Regions from separate parts of the Homo sapiens genome. Here region 1 is linked to region 2. The links are contacts of gene promoters, found by promoter capture Hi-C in human tissues and cell types (Jung and others, 2019). All regions are on one chromosome and are shown on one strand. The core of a region is centred on a gene start or on the middle of the fragment in contact, and the rest is flanking DNA. Distances in the headings are between cores, read along the strand shown.

Evidence for each region. The method cuts DNA at HindIII sites, captures the fragments that hold promoters and counts their contacts. A contact is called where the count stands out against the background at its distance.
Region 1: a fragment that was not itself captured here is called in contact with the fragment with the promoter of BAG4 in region 2 in 1 of the 25 tissues and cell types used here (dorsolateral prefrontal cortex).

Annotation. Positions count from the first base shown.
Region 1 is chr8:38,790,040-38,792,739 of GRCh38, forward strand. All of the region lies in intron 2 of TACC1 (transforming acidic coiled-coil containing protein 1), which reads left to right. Among named protein-coding and RNA genes, the nearest start is that of TACC1, 4.2 kb to the left of the region's middle. The HindIII fragment of the contact is 3,949 bases long and covers 1-2,700 here.
Region 2 is chr8:38,175,433-38,178,132 of GRCh38, forward strand. BAG4 (BAG cochaperone 4) reads left to right here and starts at 1,423. Exons shown (of 5, transcript NM_004874.4): 1 at 1,423-1,707. The coding sequence starts at 1,438. LSM1 (LSM1 homolog, mRNA degradation associated) reads right to left here and starts at 1,061. Exons shown (of 4, transcript NM_014462.3): 1 at 843-1,061. The coding sequence starts at 888. RefSeq lists enhancers at 29-886, 466-555, 887-1,744, 966-1,115, 2,026-2,365. The HindIII fragment of the contact is 1,071 bases long and covers 1,240-2,310 here.

The DNA of each region.
Region 1 (2,700 bases), core at 130-2,629, 610 kb after region 2:
TGAAATCAGAACCAGAAGTCTCAAGTCAAGGTGTTGGCAGGGCCTTGCTCTTCTGAAGGCTCCAGGAAGTCTGTCCTTGCCTCTTCTAGCCTCTGCTGGGTGTCTGCAATCCTTTGTGTTCTTTGGCTTGTGGCAGCAGAACTCCAGTCTCTGTCTCAACACATGGCCATCTTCTCCCTATGTATCTGTCTTACCGTGCCCTTCCTGTGAGGACACCAGTCGTTGAAGTTAGGGCCCACCCTAATCCAGTTTGACCTCATCTTAACTTGGTAACATCTTCAGAGATACTATTTCTAGATAAGGTCACATTCATAGGTACTAGGAGTTGGGACTTTAACATATCATTTTGAGAGACATAATTCAGCCCACAACAGAGAGCTTTGAACAGAGGGATTGTGATTCAGCTTCTTTTGTAAAAGGCTCCCTGGGCTGCTGTGTGGAGAAGGGACTCTAGGATGGAAGTCCTTTTTATGTGGTTTCTCTGTTCCAGTATCTGGCACTGTCACCCTGAAGTGGCAGCGCCAGCTTTCAGTTATCTAGCTACCTAAACTTTGTGCTGATTGTGACTTTCTCCTCTCCCTAATAAGTATTTTTATTGCTTAGCAACTTCTTCGTAGGTTGCCTAGGGAAGTCAAGTTACTCTGGTAATAGACTGCATGATGGAGCTGGAATTATTGGTAAAATGACATCAGCAAAAAGCTGATTTGGTTTTGCTTTAAATTGATAGCTCCATGCTGTGCTTACCCAGCTGAGAATTCAGCAATACCCTCAACTTGCCCTAGGCTGCATTTTGCCATTGTTCTAGGCAGGGACAACATGGGAATAGGCAAGCTTATATACTGGAGAATTTGTGTGCGACGCATAGCTGTGTAGCACTCTCAGTGATGAAGATAACACTTATTCCTCATAGCTTCCCTTTTCTTCCGTAAAGATTGGCAGATCAGAAGGGAGATTTTGAAGCTTGAAAGAACTATTTGGTGGCCTTTCCATCAAATTTAAATAAAGCTCATAAGACACATGTTAAGGAGCTGTTTGAAAGCCTTTTTGAATTGCCATCAGCTTGGGCGGCCCTTCCTCATCGTTTTGTCAGCTGCTAGACTGATTCATCCCGCCAGATTCTTTGCCAATTGAATAGAGGCCTGGATGACCTAGGCCCCCAAAACCACAGAGACCCAATTGTTTGGTCCTTCCTGTACCAGTGACTCTCACATTTTTTTCATTCTCTCTAAAAGGAAAACTTTTAAATGTTTATGGATCATGAAGGCTCTATGGGGTAGTTCATGAATGCAGACTGTAATTGTAGGGGTAGAGGAGTGTCCAGTCCAGGAAACAACCCTGCATATTATGAAGGCTTTCAGTTTAGGGTCTTTAAACAATAGGATGATTGCTCATCAACCTGGTCGTACCCTGACTTCCAGGGTCCTTGGGTGCAACATCCGGAGCTAGTCCAGAGTACCGCCAATGGCCTTGTCACACATACACAGCAAATGTGCAAAGACAGCCAGAGCACAGGTCTGCCTGGAGAGGATTTCAGTGGGCAGAAAGCCCTTCAGAGTCATTTCATATTGAAGTTTAATTTCTGGGACTGGATAAGTTCCCTTTCTCCCAAAATTATTGATTGTTTTGTTCCTGGTAAAGATAGTCTTTCATACTTTTGTGGTTCCAAGACATGGTTGGACCGCAGTTATAAATTATATAAGACTAAATCATTCTGGAAGAATGATTTACGAGGAGTTAGTCAGGAGTTGGAGTTGAAATATGTAAACATTCTGGCTTCCTGGTACATAATGGCCCTCAAACGTGTGGGCTACATTTACCATACCCATGGCTCCTGTGCTGACTTCTGTATAGTTCTTTGAACTCAGGGAAACATCTAAGACTATTTTGAAATGACTTTTCTTATACTGGAACTGCTTTAGGAACTTGCAGTATCTAAACTCTATAATGACTCTTCCTAAGAGTTGTATGCCAGGAGTTAAGTGGCGGATAAGGTTGTAGATTTTTTTTGAAGCCACATATAGAAGCAGGTTTTAGGCTTACTGGTAAAATAAAACTCTAGCTAAAGATATTTCCTGGAAATAACCAGACTGGTAGCTGTAAAGCTTGGGCTGGTCTGTATTTGCTATCTGTCTGTTTTCTCCCACTAAAGTTGTTTAATGCTGCTGCTGTTGTGGTGGTCTTTCTCTTTGCTGGGAAATATATTGGTGAAGAAACATCCTCTAGGAATGGACTTTTGAGGAGGTACAATCTCAAGTTCATCCTCTGTTTTGTTTTGCTTTGAGACAGGATCTATGTCTAGACTGGAGTGCAGTAGTATGATCATAGCTTACTGCAGCCTCCAACTCCTGGGCTCAGATGATCCTCCTGCCTCAGCCTCCTGAGTAGCTGGGACTATAGGCACACACTACCATGCCTGGCTAATTTTTTGTTTTGTTTTGTTTTTTGAGATAGAGTCTCGCTCTGTTGCCCTGGCTGAAATGCAGTGGTGCGATCTCGGCTCACTGCAAGCTCCGCCTCCTGGGTTCACGCCATTCTTCTGCCTCAGCCTCCCAAGTAGCTAGGACCACAGGCGCCCACCACTACGCCCAGCTAATTTTTTGTATTTTTAGTAGAGACGGGGTTTCACCGTGTTAGCCAGGATGGTCTCGATCTCCTGACCTCGTGATCCGCCCGCCTTGGCCTCCCAAAGTGCTGGGATTA
Region 2 (2,700 bases), core at 173-2,672:
ACTTATTTAAAACTATGTGTAAATCATCTTGAAACAAGTTAATGAGAAAGATCACATGATTAAAACAATAAAAAATGTTGCTTGAGGAATAATGCACAGACGGAATTTAGAAAAAAGGAAAGCCAGAACAACTGCAGACGGTTCTTTTCGCTTTTGTATAGGACTGAGCTCCTCTTCCGGACAAAAACCAGGAATAAGGGAGGTCTTCTTAGTAAAAGCAAAAGTAAATTGTCTTAAAAAAAAAAAAAAGGTTGCAAGTGATTTGGTCTTTCCAGAAAAGTCAATACCATGTCTAACAGTGGTCTCTACTACAATAACCTGAAGGTGCTAATGACCCTCACAGTAAAATAAGCTAGCAAATGGCCACACCGTAGAGCGCCTACATTTACTGCCAATTAAGTCCAACTGCCGCTGTCTTAATATTTTCGCTTTTTAATGAATCCTCTCTCTAGGTATTCCGATCCATCCACCGGTAACACGCTGATACTTCGAAATACTGCAGGCAGGAGTGGACGGGGGAGAAGCCCCCCCCCTCCCCGGGCTTCTTTCGTGTTCGGGCCTCTGCTGCCGCGATCCACGGAAGCAAGAATGAGTTCCATCGCTTGGGGCTCACCAGCTAGAGGGCTGGCGGAGGCTGCGAGGGGCAGAAGTAGCAGCAGGCTACTGGGTGGGCAAGCGGTGTGTACCGCAGCTGTGGAGGACATCGACGCGGAACGCCCGGATTGAGCTCAGAACACACCGGCCCCGCCCGGGACTCATTCTACAAGCTTCTTCGGAAGAGGCGCCCGCCCGGGAGGAAGGGTCTAACCCCGGGCTCCACCGGGAGGAGATAAACTACTCACTGTCAATGTCCTCGATGAGGCTGGCGGTGCCAGGCATATAGTTCATTTTGAACTGAAATAATGCTGCAATGCACAGCGGCGGGAGGCCAGCGCGTCCAAAACCTCTTCCCTCCTACCGCAGTCGCCGCCTCGGTGGGACCAAGCCCGGAATCCCGACCGAGACCAGCACTTCTGCCCCGGCTTTCAGCCGCCGGGGGCTGCCGGAAGCTCCTCCATATTACCCTTACCCACTTCCTGTAACACGTGTGGGCCCCCAGGAAGAGGCGGGGCAGCCGTACCGTTGGGGGACACCCTTTCCCTGTTCCTGTTAAGTAGGTAAGAGGAAACTCCATTGGATAAATGGCGAGGAAACGTATACTCCCTCTTAAGGAACACGGTGTCTTCCTTCGTCTCCGGGTTCCCGAGACCCCAGAGTCACTGACCTCCGTCCCTCAGCTTTCGGGGTTCGGCAGCAGAAGGGGCGGGCCCGGGCCTGGGATTGGCTGGCGTCGTCCGACCCCCTTCGCTGCTCTCCATTCGCAATCGCCCGCGGGCGCCTGCGCGATGGGTCGGCCGTGGGGAGCGGGGCGGGAAGCGCTTCAGGGCAGCGGATCCCATGTCGGCCCTGAGGCGCTCGGGCTACGGCCCCAGTGACGGTCCGTCCTACGGCCGCTACTACGGGCCTGGGGGTGGAGATGTGCCGGTACACCCACCTCCACCCTTATATCCTCTTCGCCCTGAACCTCCCCAGCCTCCCATTTCCTGGCGGGTGCGCGGGGGCGGCCCGGCGGAGACCACCTGGCTGGGAGAAGGCGGAGGAGGCGATGGCTACTATCCCTCGGGAGGCGCCTGGCCAGAGCCTGGTCGAGCCGGAGGAAGCCACCAGGTAAGCTTTGCACCCTCTGTCCTTGCGGGGAGGTGAGGGCCCTTGGGGCTGGGGTTCGTAAAGGATCGGGTTTCATACTTGTTTTCCTTATGTGGAGGAGGGTGTGTTGCGGGGGGTGTTGGAGAGACCGAGACTAAGATCAGAGGTTGGGGGGACATGCTTGTGTTCCCTTTGCCCCTCCTTTTCTGCTTCGACCCCAAAAAATATGTTTATTACCATTTAAAAAAGAAAGATCCTGCGCGGACTTACTAAGCTTAGCAGCAGGCTGCAGATCTCTCTCCTGGGAGCGGTGCTGGGTAGGGGTGGCACGGATCTACTGCTCCAGCTCTAGCAATTTATCCTGCGTGGCTGGCAGGCCGGCTCTCCCGGGGAAGGGAAGTGGCTGCAGCCCCCGATGCCGCTCAGGGACCCTCCCGAGGGGAAGGAACCTTTGCGAGGAGGAGGGATCTGGGCATTTAGCTGTTTGCCCCTAATGCCTTGCCTGAGATCGAATCATGAATAATCAGTGTTGTAAAGTACCTTTACGCGGATTGACTGATTTAATTTTCACGGCGACTGCAAGGTAAAATGGCATTACAGCGGCCCTTTTTTTTGTTTTCGAATAAGGAACCGGGGCTCTGCGAGGTTAACTCACTTGCCTAATACACTTGGACCTGCAACATTTTATTCTCCGTTTTCCTGCCGGACATATACTTCTGCTTTGTTAATACAGTCTTCTGGGTAGTGGGTTGTCGTTCTGCGGTGGCAGCATACCTCTCTGTTCGTTCAAGAATTATCCTCATTTGTTGAAAATGTAATAGTGAAATTCTCGTACATTGCTGGTGGGGATGTAAAATGGTGGAAAATAGTTTGGTAGTTCCTCAAAACATTAAGCATTAGAATTAGTCTATGACCCAGCAAGCCCACTCCTGGCTATATACCCAAGAAAACTGATAACGTATGTTCACATAAAGCTTGTCCGCCCATGTTCATAGCATCATTATTCATAATCGC